Regions from separate parts of the Homo sapiens genome. Here regions 2, 3 and 4 are each linked to region 1. Evidence: promoter capture Hi-C in 16 types of primary human blood cells and fetal thymus (Javierre and others, 2016). All regions are on one chromosome and are shown on one strand. The core of a region is centred on a gene start or on the middle of the fragment in contact, and the rest is flanking DNA. Distances in the headings are between cores, read along the strand shown.

Region 1 (4,915 bases), core at 1,375-3,874:
GTCAGAGCCCAGAAGTTGAAGACAAGCCTAGGAAACATAGTAAGACCCCATCTCTACAAAAATTTTAAAACTTAGCCAGGTATGGTGCCATGCACCTGTAGTACCAGCTGAGGTGGATCAATTGAGCCAGGAGGTCAAGGCTGCAATGAGCCATGATTGAGCCACTGCACACCAGCCTCGGTGACAGGACAGGACCCTCAAAAAAAAAAAAAGTGATTAATGGTGCCCTGCTCACACAGTTAATGTATGAACTCAGTGAGATAATTAATGCAAAGTGTTCTGCTTTCAGGGCTGGCATAAGAGTTCAATTAAGTACTGGCATTCATAATAAATCCCCTATTTAGAAAAATGACTCTTATACCAATATGAGGAACGGACTCAAGTGAGTGAAGGTGGAGGCAGTGTGGAATATTGGGGGTATAAAATCTAAACTAAGAAGGCAAAAAAATTGCAAGAAGAGAACAGAATGAATGAAAGTTATTACAGAAAAAAAAATCAAAAGGACCCAACAAAATATATTGGATACAGAATATGAGAGTAGGAAAAATCTTAAATAGCTCTCTGTTTTGAGCCAGCGTAGCTAGGAAAAGTACTGCCATGAGAAATAGGTGACCCCTGACGAGGAGCAGGAAGAAATGAGGAAATCACTTTTAGAAGTGTCTTTGAGGAAATACCATAGGATATTCCTCTGAATATGCCCAGCAGGTAGCTGAACAAATGAAACTAGAGCTCAGGAATGAAATCAAGCTGTGCCACTTTGTTCAAAATCTCTGCATTCTAAAATCCTCCTTCCTGACCACTACCTTCTCTCCTCCATCACTTCCCACTCACGCTGAATCTCCTTACTCAATCTCTAGAGGTCTTAGGTAAGAGTTCTCAAACTGGCAGCCCCCCACGCATTGTATCACCCAAAGAATGTTTCAAAAATTTTCTGAATTAGTTGTCAACATTTAAAAATTGTAAGAGTTCACATAAATTTCAACTTCCAGCTCCTCTTGCAAAATTGGAAATATCTGAGGAAAAAGTGAGCCCATGTTCCCACATGGAAACAATAAGCTGAAGCCGAATAGCAGCTGGCGTTATTAGGGAAGGAGTATGGCTGGTCTCTGGAGACTTCTGAGCGTGGGACCTCCTAGGACCTTTGTTTCTTCCTTTGATCTCCATAGTCCATGAGTCAGATCCCAGCCTCACCTCCCTACCCCAGCCCAGACCCACGTGTATTTTAATCATATCAACATTTAAGGACTACTGTGCACCAGGCACGGAGCCAGAGAAACAAAGTTGAAAAGAAGGCACCCTCTGCCCTCTGTCTACCCTGTCAGCCTCATAACCAGCCACACCAGCATATTCTCAATTCCATGAGCCACATGTGCTTTCCCTGCATCCCAAGGCTTTGCACATGCTGTTCCTTCTGCCCCTACAGCTAAGCCCAAACCCCCTTCTCCTAATCATCCTTCAAGTCTCAAATGATATTTCCTCATGGAGGCCTTCCCAGACTCCCCATTAAGTAGCATACAATCATCCCCTTTCACGTGTTCCATGGCTCTTTCCCCCTTCTTGTACTTTCTCCATGTCTATCTCTAAGACCAGACTTCATCTTGTTCACCAATTAATTTCCAGCATCTAGCATAGCCAGACAAGTACTTCCATAAAACTTTCCATATGTCTCCTAGGCACGTTTTGTTCCAACATGGCTCATCTTGCCAGCTTCCCCCTGCTTCACTTCCTCCACTCTTGTTTCCAAGGTAGAATCGGACAGGCTACTGGGCACTCTCTTCTTAAATTTAAAACAGTTTTAAGCGGGAGGTGCGTGGATCAAATTCAGGATGTTAAAAGATTGTACTGACTGCAGAGTGGAGAAAAAAACAAGAAAAGTGGATGCGAAGAGACCAGTTAGATTACTTCAGTAAATCGCCACTCCAGTTCTAGAACAACTTGGGATTCTACACATCTAACTGCGGTGTTGTGTTACCACATTTCATGGCACTTTCCACGCCTTCACACACACAGCGGCAAACTACCGCGAAACCTCCGGACCCAGCTGCCCTCCACGAGACGCGTTCGGTGATATGCACTCCTCCCCAATGCGAGACTCCGAGACCCCAAACTCCCTCGGACTCTCCCAGTTGGGTCCAGGGCCACACTCGGCGCAGCCAAGCCCGCCCTACCCGAGGTCGCACACGGGCCGCTCCGGGGTCAATGGTTCTTTGGAGGACCAAGAGGACCAAGGCAACAGGGTAATTCATTAGGGGAGGATAGTTAAGAGGGAGCGAAAGGAAGAAGAAATCATGAAATGCAATGCCCGGCCAGGGAACTCCGAACAAGGAACAGGGAACAAGGTTTACCAAGGCGAATCCTGGAACACTCCCACTACAGCTGCCCCCAGCGCTTCAACTACCGGCTTAAATGAACCACGCCCCTTGCGCGACAAAGAAAACGCACTATTCCTGCGACCAGCTGGGGAAGCACCCCGCTACCTTTTACCAGACCAGCCAATGAGTTCAGTGAAACCTTCGATCAAGACAGTCACGCTCCGAGTGGCCAATGAAATTGAAGGCTCTGCCCTCCATGCCCAACTCTGATTGGCTTACAATCCAGGAACAGGCGTTAACCCAGGGAAGGCAGTGGCAAGATGGCGTCCCTGGATCGGGTGAAGGTACTGGTGTTGGGAGACTCAGGTGAGCGGCTTACCCTACCTCTGGGGCTCCAGACACTTTTGAGTTACCCAGTAACCCTCCCCTTAGCTTCCTTCCCTCAACTTCCTGGCTCCTCGGCCCGTGGCTGAAGTCCCTCCCAGGGCCTGAAGACTACACTTCCCAGGGGACTTTGCTCCGTGTGACGACGCGGTGGCGGCGGCGTCGTCGCGCGGGTGGGGGTCGCGGAGCCCGGGTCTTTTGCCTTCGCGGCTTTCCGCATCGGTCTCCCAGGCGACCCCAGCCTAGAGTGTATTGTCAATTCTTTTATTAAAAAAAAAAAAAAAAAAAGCAGGCATTGAGTATTGTATGGGGTTCTATGTTAAGGGTACAGAAGTTAGTAGGACCGTGCCTTCAAGAGATTTTGTTCATTAAGGAAGTCAAACGTGCACTGAGAAACGTGCACTGAGAAACGTGCACTGGCAAGCGCTTCGCATGTATTAACTCATTTAATTCTGAGACAGTCCTGTTATCCCATTTTACAGATGAGAGTAGTGAGGCAGAGAGATGTAAATGACAGAATCCTTTTGAACGCGGAGTCCACGAACTTAAACGCTAAGTTATAATTATGCAGTGACATATTGGGTAGTGGTCCTGTTTTATTCTTAACTGAGCTTAATTTCCTGGTTCTCGTTTGATCTTCATTGAAAACCTATTATGTCCTAGACTGTACAATAGAGAAATTAAAGTAAGAGTTTTATTCTGAAGCAGCTAGGATTTAACGCTGAGCCCAATTTAATCCTAGTGTTAAATATATATATATTTTTTTAATCTCAGTGGATGCAAAAAGAATTCTTTTGACACCTGGGACATTTGAGAACTACAGCTGGCGTCTGGATTTCCAGCTCCCACCTCACTGCCCTTATCTTTTCTTCCATAATCCCCAATTCAGCTCTCCTTAGTAACTTCAATAAATGCTGACCTTGCATTTTATAGAAGCGCTCCTCTGGAGTTGGCCTAAGAGCATGTGTTGTGAGCAAAGACGTTGTGCTAGATGCTTGGAGGTGGAGAGGCTTGAAAACTTAATAGAAACTAAATAAAATTGTGGGCAGCAAATATAGGTTAAGAATGTTTTCACATTGCCCTGAGGATTATTTGCATTATGAAATATTTTACAGAGAGCATTATTTAATATTCCCCTAAGAAAGTTGCCTTTTGAAACTTAATGAACATAATCACAATTTATGTCGACTTCATTTCTATCAGGTAGCTTGAAGTGGTGCCGAAGTTAATTTAATAAAATCACTCAGTTTTACAGATAAAGTAATTGTGGCCTAAAGGGACTTGGCAAGAGTATCACTGAGTAGAATTTACAATCCAGAACTAACAGACTTCTTCATGATACGTTAAGTGGGTGTTTTGTGTCCTTTATAATTCCATTTTCTATTGTATCTAACAATCCCTTCATATTACAAACTGTTGCAACTAGTCAATTTATTTTCTTTCCAACAGGCACTGTATTAGGTTCTGGGGTTATAACTGTGGAATTAATGCGTCATATAACAGGGATAGAATTAGCAGCTACATTAAATGTGGAAAAGTAATCAGGCAATTGATAAGCTTCCCTACTGCCCGCCTCCCCTGTTATGGTTTAGTTGTAAAGCAGAAGACACAGCTGTGATGGCCAGGAAAGTGATTGATGTTGTCACACATTCACTAATGTTAACCTTTATGTGCAAAGTTAGTTATTGTCTTTTTATCTTTTTAAAAGGTAATTTTGTCAGTCTCCTTTTAACTGCGATTTAAAAGTACACAGTCTGACAGTTTAGAATGCACTTTTTACACTTCCTCAGCCTTTCTTTCAAACCCGAAAGTTTATTTTTAAATAAAGGCCATTTCCCTTATAAAATTTTGAGGGTTTCACAAATATATAAAGAAATGACTTAGCCAGACAAGGTGGCTCTAGCCTATAATCCCAGCACTTTGGGAGGTTGAGGCGGGTGGATTGCTTGAGCTCAGTTCAAGACTAGCCTGGGCAACATGGCAAGACCCTCTCTCTACCAAAAACAGTACAGAAAGTTAGCCGGGCATGGTGGTGCACGCCTGTAGTCCCGCTACTCAGGAGGCTGAGGTGAGAAGATCACTTGAGCCCAGGAATTTGAGGCTGCAGTGAGCTAGGATCGTGCCACTGCACTCTAGCCTGGGTGATAGAGTGAGACCCTGTCTCCAAGAAAAAAAAATAAAAAGAATAAGTTGATATTTGGTGATTTGTTTTTATCCTA
Region 2 (4,915 bases), core at 2,416-4,915, 1.5 Mb after region 1:
ACTCTGTACTCCATTACTCATCATGGGGTAGACAAAAAACTAGTTCTGGGAAGACCTATATCCTTAATAATAGACTCTCATGTATCTCCTGCTCTTATAAGCTTTGCTGTAACTAAATACTGCAAAGCTTTAATCCATTATATGAAAGTGTGTTTTCCCCAGGTAAAAGCCTTTTGTGATACACTGAGTACAACCAACCTTTCACAATCTAGAACTCAGAGATTGAGTCTTCTGGAAATAACATCCCATCTGAGAAAAACTGCTCTTGTATCCCATTAGAAGAGATTATATCATGTACTTCTCTCACCACCCACAGTAAAACTTCAGGGCCTCGAGTTTTGGTCCATACCTTGTAACTCAAAAGAGCCCCTTCAAACTCTTGGAATTATACACCTGTTGGAGATCTTAAGGTAGGGAAGTTTCTCCCCAGAAGCAGATGGCATCCTAGACATGGACAGCTTTCTCAAGATCATGGATCAAGACTTCTCTGCTATCATGACTATCTTATCTTTTTTTCTATTTTTTCCATATTTCCTGCTGGGAAATCCATGGGACCATAATTTATAGATGGCTTTAGCTAAGGCTCATGCTCTAACAAGAAAAACTAGAGCAACTGTTGGGTTTCTGGACTGATGCCAAAAAAAAAACCCCTAGGAAACAATTTTATTAATGCCAATGCCTCTCTGTGAAATGAAAGCCACCCTAAAACCTCAAAAGCAGATTGGAAAGCTATCTTTAATTTTGTAGATATCACTGCTACTTGCTTTCCTACACTTACTGAAAGCAATAACCCAACTTCTCCAATTAATAACCTACCAGCTACCAAATATAGAAAAGCTGAGTGATTCTTTTTTTTTTTTTTTTTTAGATTAACTTGCTTGGCTCCTTTATTATTCTCCTTTATTATTAAACTTCCTCAGCATAATGTGATTTGGGCAGACAGAGATGTTATCCTGTGGCTTATTGTTGGCCTACATTCTCTTTTTTTTTTTTAAATTTATTTTTTTTTTAGTATTTATTGATCATTCTTGGGTGTTTCTCGGAGAGGGGGATTTGGCAGGGTCATAGGACAATAGTGGAGGGAAGGTCAGCAGATAAACATGTGAACAAAGGTCTCTGGTTTTCCTAGGCAGAGGGCCCTGCCGCCTTCCGCAGTGTTTGTGTCCCTGGGTAGTTGAGATTAGGGAGTGGTGATGACTCTTAGCGAGCACGCTGCCTTCAAGCATCTGTTTAACAAAGCACATCTTGCACTGCCCTTAATCCATTTAACCCTTAGTGGACACAGCACATGTTTCAGAGAGCAGGGGGTTGGGGGTAAGGTTATAGATTAACAGCATCCCAAGGCAGAAGAATTTTTCCTAGTACAGAACAAAATGGAGTCTCCTATGTCAACTTCTTTCTACACAGACACAATAACAATCTGATCTCTCTTTCTTTTCCCCACATTTCCCCCTTTTCTATTGGACAAAACCGCCATCGTCATCATGGCCCGTTCTCAATGAGCTGTTGGGTACACCTCCCAGACAGGGTGGTGGCCGGGCAGAGGGGCTCCTCACTTCCCAGACGGGGCTGCCGGGCAGAGGGGCCCCCCACCTCCCAGACGGGGCGGCGGCCGGGCAGAGGGGCCCCCACCTCCCAGACGGGGCGGCGGCTGGGCAGAGGCGCCCCCCACCTCCCGGACGGGGCGGCTGGCCGGGCGGGGGCTGCCCCCCACTTGCCGGGCGGGGCGGCTGGCCAGGCGGGGGCTGCCCCCCCACCTCCCGGGCGGGGCGGCTGGCTGGGCGGCTGCCCCCCACCTCCCGGACCAGGCAGCTGCCCGGCGGAGGGGCTCCTCACTTCTCAGACAGGGCGGCCAGTCAGAGACGCTCCTCACCTCCCAGACGGGGTGGCGGCGGGGCAGAGACACTCCTCAGTTCCTAGACGGGTCGCCGCCGGGCAGAGGCATTCTTCACCTCTCAGACGGGGTGGTGGGGCAGAGGCGCTCCCCACATCCCAGATGATGGGCGGCCAGGCAGAGACGCTCCTCACTTCCTAGACGGGGTGGCGGCCGGGAAGAAGCGCTCCTCACTTTCCAGACTGGGCGGCTGGGCAGAGGGGCTCCCCACATCCCAGATGATGGGCGGCCAGGCAGAGACGCTCCTCACTTCCTATACGGCGTGGCAGCAGGGCAGAGGCTGCAATCTCGGCACTTTGGGAGGCCAAGGCAGGCGGCTGGGAGGTGGAGGTTGTAGCGATCCGAGATCAAGCCACTGCACTCCAGCCTGGGCAACATTGAGCACTGAGTGAGCGAGACTCCGTCTGCAATCCCGGCACCTCGGGAGGCCGAGGCTGGCAGACCACTCGCGGTCAGGAGCTGGAGACCAGCCCGGCCAACTCGGCGAAACCCCGTCTCCACCAAAAAATACGAAAACCAGTCAGGTGTGGCGGTGCGCGCCTGCAATCCCAGGCACTCGGCAGGCTGAGGCAGGGGAATCAGGCAGGGAGGCTGCCGTGAGCCGAGATGGCGGCAGTACAGTCCAGCCTCGGCTCGGCATCAGAGGGAGACCATGCAAAGGGGAGACGAGGACCGTGCAAAGGGGGGAGGGAGATGGGGAGGGAGACAGAGAGGGGGAGGGGGAGGGGAAAAGCTGAGTGATTCTTGCAAAAGGTATATATTATGCTTCCAGGCATCATATGCTCAAGACCTGGGGACTATGTGGGTATAAGTAACTGATTGTATAACGCCACTGGATGAAATCCAGTAATGTCCTTTTTCACTAAATGTGGTTATACACCCTTACAGCATGTTACAAAGGGAACACAAAAAAATAAGTTTCACACTGGACCTTGTTCAGGAGCAGTGTTGACCTATTTCACTGACCTATCCTCAACTGCCACTAGGTGGCCCTCTTTTCCAGCTTCCAAGGGCCTACATTGGGCCTATGCGGCCTCAGTATAGCCTCAGATTTCCTGCTATGAAGCTTAATGAGCCCAGCACTGGCTCTAGCTATGGTTTGTTCCTTTTTGGGTGGAGTGGATGTGTGGTTCTTGGAGAATCTACTACTTTCCCGTGAGTGCAGTGGGAGACTGCATTAGAGAATCTAGCTATCCTGACTGCCTAAACAGAGCCTACCATAATTTTTCACTCAAATCTTTAGTGTAAATATAATTGTCTTTGCTTTCTGTAATAATATCTTTGAAGAAATACGGATTTAAAAAAATCATTTAATATTCTCAGACCTGCAACATGGGAAAAATATTATTATTATTATTATCATTTTTGCAGTTGAGAGGGCTGAAATCTCGCAGGGTGATTAAGTTTATTAGCCTCTCTAAAGTCTCAGTTTCCCACTCTGTAAAATGGAAGGGTCCCTATCTCTTTCCTACTGCTTTGTGAGTATTTAAGGGGATGGAATTTGGGAAGCGCTCAGCACCCAGTCTACTATTGGCACAGGGTTTTAAAGCCACCCAGAGGCCGAGGCGTCAACCCTCCGTTTCCCTCCCGGTGCTCCTTCCAGCGCCCGGTGTGGTCGATTTGGCGGGGGTGGAGCGCCAGGCGCGTGCAGAGCCGGGCGGACCAGCCTCTCCGGCCAAGGCGGGAGGCGGAGCTCGTACTCAAGAGCCGCCTCCCGGGCGGCTGGGGCGGTCCCCGAGCTGCTTTCCGCGTTCTCCCCTCTCCGCGGGCAGTGCTAGCTCGCCGCGGCCGCCTCCGGGGTGAGTACGCTGGCTCCGCCGGCGCCCGGGAAATGCAGTTCCCTGGACACGGGCGCCGTGCGAGGGTAGCCGGGCGACGGCCGGGGTCAGTCCCAGGGCTGTAGCGGGGCGGGCGTGGGGATGACGTGGCGGCGTCCGTGGGGCAGTCCCGCCTCAGCCGGAGCGGTGGGCCGGGCCGGGGGCCTACGGAGGCCGAGCCTGGCGGGAGGCACCGGCTCAGGTGCTGGCGTTCCGCGCGGCGCCGCCTCTGCTGCGGGCCGGGGGAGCCAGACGAGGTGCTGCCGGGTAGGAAAAAATCCAGGGCTCATTCATACCCCAGGTCACGATTCCGGGGTCGCCCCCAGCACTTCTCCGCCGGGTGCATCAACCTGAAAAAGCCCCTTCTTCCTGGAAACCCTCCTTCTCCAGCGTTTCAACGGGGAAACTGATCAGCTGACACCAGCCCCAGTCCTGCGAGGGGCCGGCGACCTTTGACCTTTCTCCAAAGGGGTTGGTCACCTGGATTATAAAAGACTTCGGAGACAGCCATCCAGTGTTTGTTGATCTGTATCCCTTGATGTTCTGTCTTCCATTAGATAAGGGCTGTTAATTCTTGGTTTGAAAAAAAACAGACAAAGTCCAAAGGACTCTGCATCGAGGAGAGGCCTATGGGTTGGTAGCCTTAGGAGAGTAGTTATCAACAGTGGGTGGGTGTGCACACTGTTGCAAAGTGTTCCAGAGTGGGTGAGGGATGGGGACGTGGCGGTGGTGAGGGTACTGGTAGACCTCCTCAGCCGTTTGGTGATGAAAAGGAGGAAAAAGAAAATGGTAATCTGAGCGTGGAGGCGAGTTGTGGCTTTTTTTTTTTTTTTTAAATTTTTAAAGAAAGGAAAATAACACCTTTAAGATGCAAGAAAATCAAGGAGAGATCAGGATGAATAGGATTCAGGGTCCGGATTGAGAAACTGGGATTCAGAAGGGAGGGCTATTCCCGAGACCCAGGCGGGGAGTGCTGGAAGGTCTCTCTTGGGAGAGGAGATAATGCTTGATTGGATATAGTTCAGAAGTTTTTGGAATTTTGTCTTCTAGAGCAGGTTTGTTCTTTATGGAAATTGTAAACCCCATGAAATTGCAATAACTTTCGTCTACCTATAGCTTTGATCAGATTGAAAACATACGTTGTGAAAAAGTACTGACCTGGATTGAACTGTTTGACTACATAATCTAAGGGGAAGTGGATAGA
Region 3 (4,915 bases), core at 847-3,346, 1.2 Mb after region 1:
TCCAAGAGACTCTATAATCAGAATTAACCCAAATGCTACCACCACAACATTTTTCATCATAGGTAGAATTCTCAGATGAATTAAACAGTTCAGTTATATTAAAAGGAACGTAGTCTCAGACAAAACGAAGCTATGGTGTTAGAATTAGGATAGTGGCAACTCCTGAAAAGACAATGACCGGAAAAGGCACAAGGGGAGCTTTTGGGATGTTACAATAGTTGCCATTTCTTTCTTAGTGCTGGGTACAGCTATGTTCAGTTTGTGAAAATTCATCCATCAGTATACTTAGGCACATTTTTCGAAATGCATTTCCTACTCCAATAAAAAGTTTTTTAAAAGGTGCTTTTGATGACTATTACACCCCTAGAAATAGGAAGAATTTGTGAGTTGGATAGAGAGACCAATATTTCCGTTTAAATCTTAAGTTAACTTTTAGAAATCACACCAACTCGTGAGATTTTAGGGCAATGTATGAAAGAATAAAAACGTGGATGTAAGACAAAAAATCTAAATTCTATTTTACTAAATAATTTCATGAAATACTCAGATAGGACTGTACTAATAAAAGCACTGGGCTGGGCACAGTAGCACACGCCTGTAGTCACAGCTAACTTAGGAGGCTGAGGTAGGACTTGAGCCCGAGTTCAAATCCAGCATAGCAACATAGCAAAGATCCTGGCTCTAAAAATAAACAAATAAATGTTTTTTTAAAAACGCACTGGGAAAGTTCACTATGCAGTGGGTGGCACATGCCAATCTAAAATAACAAGGAAAAACTACTATTTAATTCGATTTGTTACTCTCAAATGCATAAGAAGCTAGAACTGCTAATGAAGCTTCCAAGATGTCATCCTGAGACTGCTCTAACAAATAGCTGTCTTAAGTATTAAGTTACTATAAAATAATTGCCCTTCTAGGCCGGGCGCAGTCCAGCCGCGGTGGCTCAGGCCTGTAATCCCAGCACTTTGGGAGGCGGAAACAGGCAGATCACGTGAGGTCAGGAGTTCCAGACCAGCCTGGCGAATGGTGAAATCCTGTCTCTACTAAAAATACAAAAATTAGCTGGGCATGGTAGTGGGCAACTGTAATCCCAGCTACTCTGGAGGCTGAGGCAGGAGAACCGCTTGAACCTGGGAAGTGAAGAGTGCAGTGAGCCAAGATCGCACCACTGCACTCCAGCCTGGGCGATAGAGCGCGACTCAGTCTCGAAAAAAAAAAAAAAAAGAAAGAAAAATACGAGTTTGGGCTGGCGCGGTGGCTCACGCCTGTAATCCCAGCACTTTGGGAGGCCGAGGTAGGCGGATCGCCTAAGTCCAAGAGTTCAAGACCAGCCTAGGCAACATGGTAAGAACCCTGTCTATAAAAAATACATTAAAAAAAAATTAGCCGGGCGTGGTGGTGCGCGCCTGTAGTCCCAATTAATCGGGAGGCTGAGGTGGGAGGATCACTTGAGTCCCAGAGGCAGAGGTTGCAGTGAGCCGAGATAGCACCACAGCACTCCAGCCTGGGCGACAGAGCAAGACCCTGTCTGGAAAAAAAAAAAAAAAAAAGAAAGAAAAAAGATACAAGCTTGGGTTACAAATATCAGAACCTCAAATATAATCTAAAAATGAAGCACACCATCCTTGGTGTCCTAAGGCTGACCCAGGCTGCCCACGCTGCAGGACACCGCTTTCGCGGCCCCCTACCCCACTTCACACCCTAGGCACTTTTACTCTTTGCCAAACAGCTCCCGGAGGCGGTCCCATCCAGATTCCGGGTAATAGGGCTCTGGGACGTAGGGAAGCCGCTTCTGACGCTCCTCAAGGACTTCCGAATCGGCAGTCACAGCTTCGGCAGCAAAGACTCGGGGAAATAGGCACAATGCTCTACAGAGAAAGCTCCGCGGTGCCGGTGGCGGCACCTCCATGGCCTTCTCTCGACCTACGGACAAACTTGAGCGCTCAGGACTTCAAGTCCTCGCGGACGTGCCGCGGGAGAGCGTAACTGTACGAGGTGAGAATCCGTGCATTTGACCCAGGTTAACCCTCTGCCAGAGGGCTCGACACCCACACCTTCAGTCCCCGGCCTCGCTTTGGAGTCCTTGGAAATACGACACAGGAAGTCCCGCCCGACCGGGGCAAAGGCCAGGGGGCGGGGCGACGGCGAAGCCGGAGCCCAAAAGACTTCCGGTTGAGGGCGGGTTGGGCCACTGCTGTGCTGAGTGCACCCCCGGAAGTGAGTTGGCTGCCAGTAGTGAAGCTCAGCGTGGTCCCGGCAGGCCTTCGCTCCGTGTTTGTGGTTCCTGGGTCATGCAAACGGTGTCTGCGGCTACTTATATTCAGCTTGAGGTGGTCATAGGTTGAAGTAATTTATCGTATTTAAAATGCCAGGAATTAGCCGGGCATGGTGGCGGGCGCCTGTAATCCTAGCTACTCGGGAGGCTGAGGTAGGAGAATCGCTTGAACCCGGGAGGCGGAGGTTGCAGTGAGCCGAGATCACACCACTGCACTGCAGCCTGGGCAACAAGAGCGAAAATCTGTCTCAAAAAAAAAAAAAAAAGGCAGGAATCCCGCTTCAGTAAGGAAGAAAGTGCAATATTCAGTGCAAGTGGAGTAGGGAAAGAGGGAAAGGCGATTTGTGCAAAAACAAGTCCAACCTACTCTGCCAACATTAGAGAAGCCTTCCAGGCTGGGCGGGGTCCGTTTGTACCTTGTCAGTTCTGCTGGAAAAAAAACGAGGCATTGGGGATGGGTGTTGGTGCCAGTTACACTAAGATTTCGAGAACACTTTTTTGAAGAATCAGCTTTTTGGCAGGTCTTCCTAAGGTGGATTTCACTCCCTTTAGTTCATATGCCTACTGCTTCTCAAAAGGCAGGAGAATTTCTGGAATTTCTATCAAGTGTTTGTATAATTTGCCGTCACTACAACCTCTGCTAACATATGCTTCGAAGTACAGTTTTCATTAAAATGAATGCATTTAAAATATTCTCAATATTCGTGTAATTTCATTCAATCCTTGTTAACAAGCATACTCCCTTATTCATTTTGCCAATCCCTTCACCTCCTTGATTCCTTTCTAGTTGTCAATCAAAACTGCCACACTGTAGTAGAATACAGTAAGTGGACTTAGGAATTTGATAGCTGGAAATGCTACACATAAGTCCCTGAGAAGTGACTGACTAGAGTGACCAGCTCAATTAGTGACAGCGCCATGAAGACTACTCTGGGATATGAGATTTGATTCAGCACTCATCGTAGCACTTACAACACTGCATCATAATTTCCTATTAATCTGTCTCAATAAACTATCCTTGAGATCACAGACCAAATATATTCATCTCTGTATCTCCAGGACCTAGAACCGCAGTAGGTGCTCAGTAAATATTTGTTGAATAATTCAGATCTCCTGACTTCTGGCTCTGGATTACTGCTTATCCCATGTTAGGTAGAAGTGGGCACCAAGATAAGTTACCAAGGCCTGAAAGCCCAAGAAAATGGCTGTACAGTCTGTTTCTAACCTATATGTAGAAAAAGCTAAATGCATAAGATGACCCCAGAATTATTCTGGGGTGAAGGAGGACTTGAAATGGGTAGGAGGGTTTGGGTGGGTGTTGGGAAGATACTGACACAATCACTTATGTACAACTCAAATGCCCCAGGATTCACTAGCCTGTAGATGAGGTAATATTAACAGGCAAATTTTAAATTCCATAACTTGTTTCTCATTTGGGTAACGGAAGACTCATTTGTAATGTTCCTTTTGCCACCTGATAACTCAAAAAACTCCCCTCTCCTTTGGCTACTGCTCGCACTGTTGCTGCTCTTCCATCTGAGCCCTCCCACATTTCCTACTTCCCCAATCCCTTACGGCTTACCTTCTTTTAGAACAAGGGAAATGCTCACCCTCCTCTGTAGTCTGCTTATTTTATTTTATTTTTGATACAGTCTTAGCTTCGTCACCCAGGCTGGAGGGCAGTGGCAAGACCTCGGCTCACTGCAACCTCTGCCTCCTAAGTTCAAGTGATTCTTGTGCCTCAGCCTCCTGAGTAGCTGGGATTACAGGCATGTGCCACAAGCCTGGCTAATTTTTGTATTTTTAGTAAAGATGGTGTTTCACCATGTTGGCCAGGATGGTCTCAAACTTCTGGCCCCAAGTGATCTGCCTGCCTCAGCCTCCCAAAGTGCTGGGATTACAGGTGTGAGCCACCAAGCCCAGCCCTGTAGGCTGTAGTCTGCTCTTTTTGAAGGTTCTCCGATCAATACAGTCTAAGCCAGAGGTGTCCAATCTTTTGGCTTCCCTGGGCCACATTGGAAGAATAATTGTCTTGGCCCACACATAACACTAACTGTAGCTGATGAGCTAAAAACAAAAAACAAAAAGAAAAGAAAAAGAAAAAAGTCCATGCATAAATCTCATGTTTTAAGAACGTTTACAAATTTGTGTTGGGGCGCATTCAAAGCTTTCCTGGGCCGCGTGCAGTTCGTGAGCCATGGGTTGGACAAGCTTGGTCTAAGCCAAAAGGTGTTATGGGGTTTACTGGACCACTGTTTCACATATGGCTTTCTTGTCCCCAGGACATGTGTTTGCCAGCAGAGTAACTGCATCAGGGAAAGATTTCAGTGCAATCACCATACTGCCTGGAACACCATTCTTCCACCAACAGCCCTTGTTGCTGAATTCTGTTTATAGAACCTAATAGTTTCTTCCCTCACAGTGAATTTTTTTCTCAGGGGTCAGCAGGTTCCCTTCCCTGCCAGGTTCACCAAGTACTGCCCTTGCTACGTATTTTACATTTTGTTACATTATATATGATATAAAACTTTTCAACATGTGGAGAGAGAATGAATTTTGAGAACTCCAAGAACCATTTCATTTACTTATCCTTCATGGTATAAATTAATTTTTACCTCCACAAAGTTTCCCATCTGCTCC
Region 4 (4,915 bases), core at 1-2,500, 1.1 Mb after region 1:
AAGAAGCCGCTGAAGCCCTGCTGCGCTTGCCCGGAGACCAAGAAGGCGCGCGATGCGTGGTCAGTGCGCAGCCGGAGAGGGCGCGGCCGACGAGCCCCGGGCCGCGGCCTGTGCCTTCCGGTGCCTCTGCCCTACGGCCTCTGCCCTCTGCCTTCTGCCCTCTGCCCTCTGCCTTCTGCCCTCTGCCCTCTTCCTTCCCCCCTTCCCCCACTCCTCCTCCCTGTCTGCCCCCCCCCCCCGCCCCGCCCCGCCCCGCCCCATTGCGGCGCTCTGGAGATAATTATTGGGCCTTGTAGGTTTCGTGGTCGGGTCTCTGTTGACTTATCCCGTAGCTTAGTACCGGGAAACGATGGAGAGAGAGGAGAACGGCAAGCTTCAACCACTCATTCCTTCCTACAAATGTGTGTTGAGTATCTGTTATGGGTTAAGCACTGCGTTAGGTCCGAAGATGTAGACATGGATAAAGATGCATCTTGATATAAAGGAGCTTAAAGTTAATGGAGACATAAACCAGTGACTTGTATACGACGTGGTAAGGGCTATGATAGATTTGTTAAGACCAAACAGGAAAGGTTTTCTGGTAATTTCTAAGGCTTTCTCCCAAAATTTAGAGACAGTAGGACACAGAGTGTATTCCTTACAGTTCTGAAGAGTTACGCTTCAACCCTTTTAAGACAACCAAAAGTTGAAAATCAATCAGTCTACGACGCAGGGGACAAAGTATTAAGAATAGTTCATCTAGATTGTCAATCCACAAAAGATTTGTTCTCATTTTATATAGCCTCTCTTGTGGAGCAAATCTCATTAGAGGACGTCCTCAGATAACGTGAATGTGCATCTCTTCCTCTGGCCCCTTTTGTCTTCCCAGATAGTAGATATAAGAAAGAAATCATTAGTGGTATAATGGGATAATAAGAGTGTAGGAGCTCAGTGCTTTTATTAATCCTCAGTACTTTGTAAATAATACGGGTAGGATTGAAAGACTAGTCTGAACAAATTGTTCCAGTGGTAACAGTAAGTGCTGTTGAACCTTGAATGGTATGACAGCATGATTAAGAGTCTGGGATCCACAGTCAAGGTTTGAATCTTAATCCACTAACTTGGTGACCTTGAGCCTCATGTGTCTGTAAAATGACTCTAATAAAAGAAACTCCCTCCAGTATTATTGTAAAGGTTAATGATACAAGCCATGTCAAGTGGCTAACACAGTATACATGGCAATAAATGATCAATGAATGCTAGCTATTATCTTCACAATGATCTCACTATCCCAGGCAATCTCCCATTTGCAGGCAGCTCTTGAGCTATTGAAGGATGGGTAGAGTTTCCATGGAAGGAGAACCTATTCCCTTTGTTAAATTCCCTTTGCCTCGATTGCCTCAGACCACGTGGGTTCTCCCCAAATATCCATAGTCAGGAGTCAGTTTTTCCTTGTAATTGAATTGGGCTTAACTTGATTATTTGCAAAATCACATTTTCAGGCCTTAGAAATAAAGCTGTGTAGTCCTAGTCTTTACTTTGTGAATTTTACAAGTAAAATATTCTTTGATCATCATGAGGGGGTGTTTATCTCGGTCTCCTGGCTACCAGATGTTTTTGATGTAATTAGAAGTAGATTTATTTGGTTGTGTTTGAATGTAGGGCAAAATCAGAAAGTTAATTTCTCTGTGATAATAAGCAAAAAATTGAGCTGTTCTCTGTGCCCTTCATTTAGCATAAATATTTTACTCAGTTTATTTCTTTATAGAGCAGTGTTACTCCTTGGATATTGACTAGAGGCAATATTTAATATGCGTGATTATTTCTTATCAGATTTCCCCCCCAAAATCACTTATCTGTGGAATGTCTTCATAGGCATGGGCATATCATAAGATCAAATAAAAACAAAGCTGTTTGAGGTAATAGCGTTTGTTTTAATTCCAGCTACATTCCATTATACCCGTGTTTTGTCTCACTCCCCATCACTATCATGCATACTTAATAATGTGCTTAATGCATATTTAGATAACAAGTACATTTTGTTTTATAGTATCATCGAGAAAGGAGAAGAACACTGTGGACATCTAATTGAGGCCCACAAGGAATGCATGAGAGCCCTAGGATTTAAAATATGAAATGGTAAGCTTCTTGCTTCAAAGTTGTGTATTGCTTTACAGATTTAGCAACAATTGGGCTACATTCTCTCTGAAAGGTAGTTCACCTGGTTAATCTAAAATGCTTAAGTATCAATTTGAAAAAACCATGATTTTTCAGTTCCCAATGAAGGGAGTAAATTATGTCAGTAAAGACAGTCATTTAGCGGATTGGGGAAGGGGAGAATTGAGCTTTTAAGAAAGGGTTTGACAAAAGCCTTTAGGTCCCATGGCTTTAGGAAAATTGACTGAGGGAACTAAAAGAAACATATTCTCTTTCTTGTTTCTAATAAATATTGTGGGACTTCAGTAAATGCTTTTTTTTTTTTTTTTTTGAGACAGGGTCTCACTCTGTTACCCAGGCTGGGGTGAAGTGGCCCAATCACAGCTCATTGCAGCCTCAACCTGGGAGGTTCAGGTGATCCTCCCCTCAGCCTCCTAAGTAACTGGGACTACAGGTGTGGGCCACCGTGCCTGGCTAATTTTTTGTGTTGTTTTTTAGAGATGGGGTTTCACCATCTTGCCCAGGCTGGTCTCAACCTCTTGGACTCAGGCAATCCTCCTGCCTTGGTCTCCCAAAGTGCTGGGATTAAGAGGTGTGAGCCACTATGCCTGGCCAAGAAATGCTTTTAAGTAGGGAGTGGGTATCCCACGGAAGTATTGCTTTCTGAAAAATGAAAATGGAATTGTAGCATGCTTTATTCGAATAAAACTAAAGCCTCAGGCCATTTTTTTTTTAATTAAAAAGTAAACTTTAATGTCAAAAATGCAAACTTGGGGAAGACAGAAAAGATCACACACAAGGCTGTCACTTCACACTTGGAAGGTTGCACAGCGGCCGGGCAGAGGTGCTCCTCACTTCCCAGACGTGGGGCAGCCGGGCAGTGGTGCTCTTCACTTCCCAGACAGGGCAGAAGCCGGGCCGAGGCACTCCTCACTTCCCAGACAGTGGGCAGCTGGGCAGAGACGCTCCACACTTCCCAGACGGTGGGGCGGCCAGGCAGAGGCGCTCCTCACATCCCAGACAGGGCGGCAGCTGGGCAGAGGCGCTCCTCACATCCCAGACGGGGCAGCAGCTGGGCAGAGGCGCTCCTCACTTCCCAGACGGGGCAGCAGCCGGGCAGAGGGGCACCTCACTTCCCAGATGGGGTGGTGGCCAGGCGGAGAGGCACCTCACTTCCCAGACGGGGTGGCCGGACAGAGGTACTCCTCACTTCCCAGACAGTGGGCAGCCGGGCAGTGGCACTCCTGACATCCCAGACAGGGCGGTGGGCCTCAGGCCATTTTTAAAAGAACTTGGAACTCTTAACCCATTTTAAGTGCTGAAAGGGACCTTAAGTGGTATGTGTCCAACAATTCCACAAACAAATGATACTCTTTTGTTTGGAAGCTCTTTCTTCAGTTATCAACTTAGCTCACCCCCTCACCCCACTCCCTCTTTACTCAGGTCTCTTTCAAAAGTCTCCTTATTAGAGAGGCTTTCCCTCAACACCCCATGTAAATTACATCCCTTCCCCATCACTCTATCATGGTGCTGTCCTAAGACCTTTCTGTGAAGATGGAAATGCTCTGTATCTGCACTTGCCAGTCTGGTAGCCACTAGCCATATGTGGCTGTTGAGCACTTGAATTGTGGCTGGTGAGAGTGAGGTACTGAATTTTTAGTTTGTAAAAATTTTAATAGCTACATGTGGCTAGTGGCTACTCTATTCTATACACTGTCACCTGCATGATACATATATTTTTAATTACCTGTGTTGCTTCACGGCAGCTAGAATGTAAGCTCTGAGAAAGTAGGAATTTTCTATTTCATTTACTGTCATATCCCCACTACCTATAACAGTGCCTGGCTCATAGTAGGTGCTTAATGGAGGATTGTTAAATGAATGAATAAATAAGGAAATTAAAGCTTATAGTTATGAAATGGCCCCCAAGGTGGGTTGTGCAGTATCAGAACTGGAGCCTCAGTCTCCATGCCGATTCCCTCTGCTTTTTGCCCCTACCCTAACTTCCACACCACACTACCACTTTTAACTTAATAACAGCTGAGAGAGAATGCCAAAGCCATATGCCAATATATTAGTACTAGAGAGCCTGGCTTCTTTCCCTTGCACCTCTTTCCTGCCTCTTTGGAATTTCACATATGGCCAGTCTTCCTCACTGAGCTATAAAAAAGGAGGGATAAGGAACTTGTCGCAAGCTGATAAGAAGTTACTGTGTAATGGAAAACAGTCTAGGCTGAAAGTCCTGAGGCTTTGTTTTTATTCTCCTGATGTTTAGTTTATCATGTTTTTAAGTTTAGCTACATTTAGCTTCATCAAGACATTACTCCTCTGAATTTCACTTATTATTTATAAAAAGAGAACCATAATACATTTTGTGATTCTATATATAGTATGGTATATCTACTGTTGTGTAAATGATATACTTAAGTTGCTTTTAGAATAGATGGTTATTTAAAGAAATCCCATAATGAACTATTTTATAAAATAAGTAAATTTGAAGGGGAGTGTGTTCTTAAAAAGTATGTGTACTTTATTAACTATTTTTAAAGATGCAACCTTAACATTTGTACATGGTTTCCTTGTTCATGATCTAACTCCCTCGTCAGTTGTGTAAGCTGTAGGCTTGTGCTGAACTTGCCTTGATAAAAAGGGGTGATTAAATAAAAAGAAATGCTAATTTTAGGAATATCAAAAGCTTATCTTGGACTTCATCTGAACCACAAAGGTGGTACAATTGTTATAAGTGGCATATATTCAAAAGTATCATATGATATCATAG

What was found. The method cuts DNA at HindIII sites, captures the fragments that hold promoters and counts their contacts. A CHiCAGO score of 5 or more calls a contact.
Region 2: the fragment with the promoter of B4GALT4 here is called in contact with the fragment with the promoter of RABL3 in region 1 in 1 of 17 cell types (monocytes); the score reaches 6.5 in monocytes.
Region 3: a contact is called between the fragment with the promoter of TIMMDC1 here and the fragment with the promoter of RABL3 in region 1, in 5 of 17 cell types (neutrophils, non-activated CD4 T cells, total B cells and 2 more). The highest score is 9.7, in neutrophils.
Region 4: a fragment that was not itself captured here is called in contact with the fragment with the promoter of RABL3 in region 1 in 1 of 17 cell types (total B cells); the score reaches 5.1 in total B cells.

The regions. Positions count from the first base shown.
Region 1 is chr3:120,740,225-120,745,139 of GRCh38, reverse strand. It overlaps RABL3 (RAB, member of RAS oncogene family like 3), which reads left to right and starts at 2,624. Exons shown (of 8, transcript NM_173825.5): 1 at 2,624-2,678. The coding sequence starts at 2,633. It overlaps GTF2E1 (general transcription factor IIE subunit 1), which reads right to left and starts at 2,396. Exons shown (of 5, transcript NM_005513.3): 1 at 2,346-2,396. RefSeq lists enhancers at 2,344-2,463, 2,344-2,638, 2,086-2,724, 2,604-2,893, 2,725-3,363. The HindIII fragment of the contact is 8,742 bases long and covers 1-4,255 here.
Region 2 is chr3:119,239,628-119,244,542 of GRCh38, reverse strand. It overlaps B4GALT4 (beta-1,4-galactosyltransferase 4), which reads left to right and starts at 3,665. Exons shown (of 8, transcript NM_003778.4): 1 at 3,665-3,693. The region is part of intron 3 of B4GALT4-AS1 (B4GALT4 antisense RNA 1); the gene reads right to left. RefSeq lists silencers at 2,799-2,848, 3,499-3,978. The HindIII fragment of the contact is 11,429 bases long and covers 2,963-4,915 here.
Region 3 is chr3:119,495,728-119,500,642 of GRCh38, reverse strand. TIMMDC1 (translocase of inner mitochondrial membrane domain containing 1) reads right to left here and starts at 2,096. Exons shown (of 7, transcript NM_016589.4): 1 at 1,716-2,096. The coding sequence starts at 1,909. RefSeq lists an enhancer at 2,307-2,356. The HindIII fragment of the contact is 2,873 bases long and covers 1,572-4,444 here.
Region 4 is chr3:119,672,348-119,677,262 of GRCh38, reverse strand. COX17 (cytochrome c oxidase copper chaperone COX17) reads left to right here. Exons shown (of 3, transcript NM_005694.2): 1 at 1-59; 2 at 2,030-2,118. The coding sequence ends at 2,114. Among named protein-coding and RNA genes, the nearest start is that of COX17, 2.6 kb to the left of the region's middle. The HindIII fragment of the contact is 1,750 bases long and covers 376-2,125 here.